Linked DNA regions of Homo sapiens: region 2 is linked to region 1. Evidence: promoter capture Hi-C in 16 types of primary human blood cells and fetal thymus (Javierre and others, 2016). All regions are on one chromosome and are shown on one strand. The core of a region is centred on a gene start or on the middle of the fragment in contact, and the rest is flanking DNA. Distances in the headings are between cores, read along the strand shown.

Region 1 (3,956 bases), core at 849-3,348:
CTTTCTTCCCCAGCGGGGTGGCTGGCACTGCTCCCCGAGTTAGCTGGCCAGTTCCCCTCGGGGCTGCCTTGACCCTGGCTCCGGAGGCAGCGCCTAGCTCAGGATGTCTGCGAGAAGCGGATGGTTAGTGAGAATCCGACGATTCTTTCGCTGAACCTCCCGCGTACCCCCCAACAGCGCGGGAGCACGCGGGACCCGCTGCGACGTGGCCCAGGAGCCTGCGCCGCCGCGGCGCAGAGGAGAACGCACAAATTGTATTTCAGCGCCAGGTCCTTCCGGGTTAATGAGCTGACACCATGATTAAAGCTGACCATTTGTAATGTGTCTCGACCCTGCCGCTGAGCCCTGAAGAGGTTAATGCGGTGACGGAGGCCGGCACCTGCCCCTCGCTGGCCTCCCGGGCCGCTGCGCGCACCCCCTGGCCCCCGCCCCCTCGCCTGCCCCTGCCCCGGCTGCGCGGCCGACTCCTAATCAATTAGCCCATTAACGAGCCCCTCGAGGAGTTAAGTAGGGAAGAGTTCTGCCACGGGCAGGGCCGCAGTCGGTAACTCACCGCGGCTAATGATATTATAAGCGCTTTACTTAATAACCCGGGCGCGGTGCAGGCGAGGAAGGAACTGCACAGTCATGCAGTGTCTGGACATTTGTGGGGACTGATTCCAGAGTCTCCACTCACCCTTGGCTGCACTTGGGGGGCACCCTAAAGACAGGGCTTCTGGAATCTCTTGGCCAAGAGGTCTAGAGGTCACAGCTTGAGGGGACGGGGTTGCCTGAGCACTTCGGGCCTTGCCTCACTTCAGTTTCCAGGAAGCTTGTGCAGACGACTGTGGCCCCAAACCGCTTTGCTTGGCTGGGCTAATTCTAGCTCGGGTAACAGCTGATCTAGGAATTAAAGGGGCGAGAGCCAGGGCACAGAAGGGGGCTATGAGAACACAGAGGGAATCACTATTTACTGAGCACCACGGTGTGCCAGGCTCGGTGCTGGGTAGTTTGACCTCACAACAGCCTCTGCGAGGGAGGCACTGCTTCCTCCAATTTTAGGAATAAAGAAACCGAGCCTCAGAATTTCCAAATGTCTTCCCCCAAGATCACCCAGCCGAGAATTGAGTCGAGTCTGCTCAATTCTAAAACCGAGTCCTGTCACCAGTTCCTTATCTTCTTCCTGGGAGTAAGGCGTCTATTTCTGCAGCAGTTCGGAAACCTTCAAAATTTACAAAACAAAAACACAGATTCGCTTAAAACACGGGTGGGCCATGGGCTACCCGGCCAGGTTTATGGAGTACCTACTATGCGCTGCTAGTGCTTCGAGGCTTTTAATCCCTACCTGAGGCAATCCGAGAAGTTATTTTCAACTATGAGGGCAGAGAGGCTTTAATCGGCATGAGTTGTGCAAGTTCATGCAGTGTGTAAATAGTTGTGCCGGAATTTGAACCCAGATCTCTTGACTAGAGGTCTTAGGGCTTCCTCCCTCCCCCTAAAGATTCTGTAGGTCCGTAGAACCTGTGACAGGGATGAGGTCTGCAGACGGGGAAGGGGAATGTCTGCTCCCAAGGCTCCTGGCCATGCTGGAGAGGATGAGCGTCCGCCTGGAGACGCCTGCTCCTAACCCACCTCACCCCCACGCAGGGCGCCACGGTCCCAGGAGTGCCGGCTTTGCCCGCCCACTGGGGCTAGAAGGGGTGGAGGGCTGGGGGAGGATGGTGGAGCAGCCTGTACAAGCCCCTGGGAGGCGCGGAGACCCGTCGCCTGCGGAGGCGTCGAGCCACTCCAGCTCCGAGTCCCGCACCGCCCCTGCCTCTGGAGAGAAGGGTCCAAGGGGTCCAAGGAGTCGGAGTTGCCGCAGCCGCCAGGAACCCGGGCTAGAATCTGCAGCTGCTTTCAGCCCTGGCTGCCCCTGGTTAGACGCCGCTGATGCCCGCCAGGCCCTCGGCGCGCTCTGGGGGCGCACCGGTGCTGTGTGCCTGGCCGGAGCGTTTTGAAATTTTCCGGGGCCGCTCGGCGGCGCTGCGATTGGCCGCGTTCGGGTAACCTCTATGCAAATGAGGCCGCGCCGCCTCCGCGCCGCCGGAGACCCGGCGAGTTGGCGGGCGAGGAAGGGGCATTTGCACCGGGGCTGGGCGGGCGCACCCAGAGCCAGGCGGGCAGGAACCCCTGCGCAGCCATCCGGTGCCTGCATGTCCCTGGCGCGGAAGGGACGCCTCACCAGCCTCGGCGCCCCCTCCCCCTAGATTTCCTCCCCGCCCCTCCCCACTGCCTGCCTGCTGCACCACCTTCCACCCAGATCACCCAGATCGTCTCTAAAGGGAGTTCTTGGTTTCCTTCGATTTCTTATGAACCCAGGATGGGCAGCAAAGAAGATGCGGGCAAGGGGTGTCCGGCGGCCGGTGGCGTCTCCAGCTTCACCATCCAGTCCATCCTGGGCGGGGGCCCCTCGGAGGCACCGCGGGAGCCCGTCGGCTGGCCAGCCAGGAAGCGCAGCCTGTCCGTGTCCTCGGAGGAGGAGGAGCCGGACGACGGCTGGAAGGCGCCCGCCTGCTTCTGCCCAGACCAGCACGGCCCTAAGGAGCAGGGCCCCAAGCACCATCCCCCCATCCCTTTTCCTTGCCTGGGTAAGGATCGCACGTCGCCAGTGTGGCAGCGAGCGAGCGCGAGGGGAGGGAGGCTGAGCGCCCCGCCAAGACTCCCGCGCCGGGCCCCCTCTGGCCAGAGCTGCGGCAGCCGGGGGTTCGGGACCGCGGGGAGAGGGGCGCGCACTGTGGTGCCTCCTCCGCCCGGTGGGCCCCTGGGAGCAGGCGAACACAGACCCGTGCCGGCTTGGGCTTCCTGGGGAAGGTTGAGTTGTTGAGAGAGTGGACCACAGCGAGAGGGACACGCGGCCGGCCTTACACCCGGCTGTCCTCAATCACTGCACATCTGGTACTTTCTTTCCGGACACGAGGTGGAGATCTGCAAGTCGGGTCTGGGCAGTCTGTCTCCACCGTAATCTCTTTCTGAGTCTTCTTCCTCACTCGCTCCGTATCTCTGCCTTTCTCTCTCTCTCCTCCTTGGAATGATTAGCACTCCAAGATGATTGACAATGGTGCATTTCAGAGACGGTTCCTCTTTACAACATTTGACGAAGGGGAGTCCTGCGTTAGTCCTTAGCGTGATTTCCAAACAAACGGCCTGTGAAATGATGCCACCCTATAAAGCTCGAGGAACTCTTCCAGCTCAATTACCACCAAGCAAATTCGCCTTTTAAAACCATGCTAATGTTTCCCCCTCCAGACCTCCTCTCCCTGTTGCCCCTGGCCCATTCATAAAGGTGGGAGCACAGAGACCCCATACTCCAAGTAGCTGGGTCCCTCTCTTGTCGCTTTTAAAGGACGGGGTGCTGGGTTTGGGGGGCCAGTGAGAGGGATAAGAGGAGGGGATTGGTAAGGTGGGACCAAGGCTGCAGGCGCTTGCCAACCGCTTGGTCCCAGGGAGAGCTGGCGGTCTCCGAGGCTCCCCAACCAACTCCATGGCCTTTCTGTCTGTTCTCGCTCCTCAGGTACCCCCAAGGGCAGCGGAGGCTCGGGCCCGGGCGGCTTGGAGCGCACGCCTTTCCTCTCTCCTTCGCACTCGGACTTTAAAGAAGAGAAAGAGAGGCTCCTGCCCGCGGGCTCGCCCTCGCCGGGGTCCGAGCGGCCGCGGGACGGCGGCGCTGAGCGGCAGGCCGGCGCGGCCAAGAAGAAGACGCGCACCGTCTTTTCGCGCAGCCAGGTGTACCAGCTCGAGTCCACCTTCGACATGAAGCGCTACCTGAGCAGCTCGGAGCGCGCCTGCCTCGCCTCCAGCCTGCAGCTCACGGAGACCCAGGTAAAGACTTGGTTCCAGAACCGCCGCAACAAGTGGAAGCGGCAGCTCTCGGCTGAGCTGGAGGCGGCCAACATGGCGCACGCGTCGGCGCAGACTCTGGTGAGCATGCCGCTGGT
Region 2 (4,019 bases), core at 1,161-3,660, 100 kb after region 1:
TACCTTTCTGTGCAGACACTAAGCCATCTCACCTGTTGCCCTCAATTGGGAGGACCACTCTGAATGGGGTTTCCATGATTACCATTTCTCTTCTATTTAGAGAGAATCTGCCATCTTAATATCCTGAAAACCAACAGACTTGAAGAGGCTGCAGACTGCACTGTACGGGAAGCCATAAGCAGAAGGAAAATAAGCTTAGCAAAGTATAGAGGAAGTTGGAGCAGGGGGGTAGGAGAAGAGGAGAAAAAAGCAGCTTGAATTTCAGCTTTTGTTGAAGGAAATAATTGAAAATTAAAATCATTTTGATTTTCCTGGGAAACTGAATTGACTGGGAGCTCACCTGATATGTGAAAAGCAAGCTCGAGGTTCACCTACCATGCCGAATGTGTTCTGGTTTCCCACCAGCCACCCCGTCTTCCTTTGATGAACAGAGCTTTCTCTTAAGTAAACATTTAAGACCTAATTGGATCATTGGTGTGGTGTCACAGTAATTAATGCACAGCCTGGAGTAGTTACACAAATGTTGGTCTGAGCAATACCAAGTACTGCTGAGAAATCAGAGGGGCCCGTGGGATCCAGCCAATGAGCCTGGTGCTCGATTGTTCTTGGTGATGAGGAAGAAATAGCAGGAATATCTCCAGGATACAAGGTGTATTATTCAAAGATTAAGAAAAAATCTCAACAATGGCTGACCAGTGATTAGAGCTTTATTATTTTGTTTAGCTAAGAATAGATTAAAATGACCCCAAAGAGAGAGCTCAGTGTTCTCATTGATTTTATGTTTTGTTATTTGGTTGAGATTGGGGTGCAGAAACCAACTTGAGCTAGTTTAAGCCCAACAAAGGAATTCACTGTAAGGATGCAGAGGTTTTTGCTGGAACCCAAGAGCAGAAGTACAGCTAGGCTTCTGGAAAGGAATGGTCTTAGTATAGGGAAGCTGGGTGTGTTGTCTCTATCTCTCCTGCCTCTGTGCTCCAAAGAGCCACTACCTCATTTTTTCCCTCTCCCTGGAAATTTTCTCCACTGGTGTTGTAGTAAATGTCTAATACTCAATTCTCTGATGAAAGAGATGCCCCGATTTGCAGTGGTTGCCAATTTCCATGGTGTAAATACTTCCACCATGGCTGATTCAAAGCTACCAATGTGGAGGCAGAGTTGGGAAGAGATGTGCAATAGCTTATGATTATATAGTATTCCCACCTTACAGATATATGGCTGTAAAGAATCTCAGGAGCATAGATTATAATAAACTATAATAAAATAATTAGGAAGTGGTGCATTTCAGTACTTATTACCTTTGTTTTAAATATAATTTAAATTTATATAATTTAATTTTTAATAATGGTTGTGTTCACAATTTGGCTTGCAGAATTCCTGCTAATTTAAGAAATCAGTCCTTGGGAGCTGGTACTTATGAGCTGATTCTAGCATACCACATTTCTTCCCCACTTCAGGGTACAGCACAAGGCAACACATGGCTGCCCCACAACTGTCTCTCCCAGAGGGATTCCACATTGGAATATGGCCCAATTCTGCATTATAGGAAGAGAGAATGTGGTTGGTTGAGTCTGGGTCAGGTGTTCTTGTTTGGGCAATCAGCTCTGGCTGGGAGTGTGCTGGAAGCAGGTCTTCCCTGGAAGGGGCAGGGGATGATGAATGTGTTAAAGGAATTTCCAGCAGCTTCCACGTCAAAGAGTAGTGCTTGTTCAGGATTTGTTATGTGCCAGGCAATTCAAAGATATTTTCTCATTTTTTCCTTCAGACTTCTGTGACCTGGACACTATTGTCCCTATTTTACAGCTGAGGAAACAGAGGGCCAGAGAGGTTTAGTAACTTACCTAAGGTCACATGGCCAGTAAACTGCAGAGATGAAATTCACATCCAGGCCCTGTTTTACCCCAAAGCCCTCTTTCACCAACCAGGTTATCTCTCATGCAGAGATACCATGCAAAATGGGAGGCCTGAGCAAGAGTAATAACGTTCCTGAACCTGTAGAGGAACAGCAACAGCTGGAATAGAGAATAAGGAGGAAAAAAAACACACACACACACACACACAAAACAAACAAACAAAAAAACCCAGAATGTGAATAAGAGGAATGAGAGCAAAAGCATGTATTATTTTTACTGAAAAACTCCAATCTTGCTGCAGTTGCTTCTCTTCTTTCTTTTAATCTCTGGGGGTGAGAGGCAGATACTGATTTCTTTGTAATTTAGGGTTTTGTTGCAGATCCTGTTGAGTTGAATAGGGGTGTGGATGCTCATTTTTACTTTATTCATTGTTTGCCTTCCCCGGTCACTTTTGTGTGCTTCTGCCCCCAGGTATTGGGCACAGTTAATTCTTCCTGCAATTAGTATTCATGGTCAGCTAAGCAGAACTAATGCAACAACCGTTTTTACTTTGAAGGTTATATTACATGTTTCCAAGGTCCTGCAGAAGAGGCTCTTTATGAATAAGATATTCTTGACCCTCTCTAGGAATTTAATTTTCCCTTTTCCGAGTTTCCGAGCCCACCTTTTGAATTCTTTAATGTGATTCCTTAGGAAGAACCCAGAGCCAGACAGGCAACAGGATATAGTCAAATCAAAATGCGGTAGTTTAAAATGTTTCCTTCTCTGGGGATGCAAGACCAGAGTACATGCTCTGCTTGTCTTAGAGTGGCTGTCTCTTCATTTTACTGGTTCCATATATATATATATATATACATACATATATATATATGTATATATATATATGTATGTATATATATATATCATTACTATAAATTGCTTCCATAGGAAAAAAATGCTCACTAATTTAAAATAGATTCAAGGAAGGGACTGAGAATTCTGACTTCGGATCATTTCAAAACTATATGCAATTATTGCAGGTAATTTCCCAGATAGCAGAAGCAGCAAGAAATATTCTTTAAAAAAATCTGAAACTTTTTTTTGGAAATAGCAAAATGTGACTTTTTCATACTGAATGCGTGACATCAATTAATACTTTAAATGGCCCAAAGTGGTCAGAAAATTCATTTAGCTGCTTTGGAAAAATTCTAATGACTCCAAAAACATAAAGCAGACCATTTAGAGTCATTTAAATGTGGTTCAACATAGTGAACACATACTATCTCCCAGCTGTTCAGCTTTTAAAAGGTGCTGGCAATACTATTTTGTCCTTTTTTTTTCTTTTTATACTTCTTATGGTTAAAAATAGCATTGGAGTTTCAACTGATGATCTTCAGAGATTTATATTACATGAAAAAACAAAATCTAGGAAAGAAGTAATATCTGACTTTTTAAGATGATGCCTTTATTTCTTGATTTCTGAATTTTAACGTATAAGATTTTGTTTACATTTTTCTTTTCAAATAAAAACATTTTTTTTCAAAATTTTAAAATTTACATTCAATCATTTGGAAACAATGAGTTTTATGACCATACAATTGTATTTCCCATTTTGCTTTTGCCACGAGGAAGCTCTGAGCCCAAATTGTGGCTGGCTTCTAGCAATTTGTAGGACCCTGTGGTGCAGAACCAGGTGTCTAGACCCTCTATGCCACCCCCGCTTACCCTATTCTTTTCTATTTGTTAATGGTTTTGTTTATGGATTTCTATGAGCCTCCCTCCACCTTTTAAAAAGATAAAGTGAAGTGTATAGTGTGTGATACTAAAAAATCATCTACTGATAAAATGGCAAAGGACTTCCCAGCCCCTTAATAAGGCCCAATTTTTCTGCTGGAGTTGAGGTCTCCCACCCAAGCATCTCTGCTTCATTTACAGCCCACCCCAGGACCTCACCCAGAGCTGAGCCCTCCAGTGCCCAGTGGGGAGAGTGGTAAAAAAGAGAGGGATGATAAGGTGGCTGAGGAATGCTTAGCAAGGAGGCCCAGGAAGCTCACTTTCCAAAGGACTCTTAATTGTGCCGGGAGGAAGCAATCCTCCTCTCTGTAAATGAGGTCTTGTGAGTGTCCCGGCTGTGGAACAGGGCCTTGGCAAATGAGAAGAGCCTTTCTGGCTGGCAGGTGGGGGTTCTGC

Evidence for each region. Contacts are between HindIII fragments. The CHiCAGO score rates a contact against its expected background, and 5 or more counts as called.
Region 2: a fragment that was not itself captured here is called in contact with the fragment with the promoter of HMX2 in region 1 in 1 of 17 cell types (naive CD4 T cells); the score reaches 6.2 in naive CD4 T cells.

Annotation. Positions count from the first base shown.
Region 1 is chr10:123,146,038-123,149,993 of GRCh38, forward strand. It overlaps HMX2 (H6 family homeobox 2), which reads left to right and starts at 2,099. Exons shown (of 2, transcript NM_005519.2): 1 at 2,099-2,609; 2 at 3,533-3,956. The coding sequence starts at 2,342. RefSeq lists silencers at 1,969-2,288, 2,679-2,808, 3,916-3,956. The HindIII fragment of the contact is 9,748 bases long and covers 810-3,956 here.
Region 2 is chr10:123,248,533-123,252,551 of GRCh38, forward strand. No RefSeq gene overlaps it. Among named protein-coding and RNA genes, the nearest start is that of BUB3, 96 kb to the left of the region's middle. The HindIII fragment of the contact is 4,437 bases long and covers 193-4,019 here.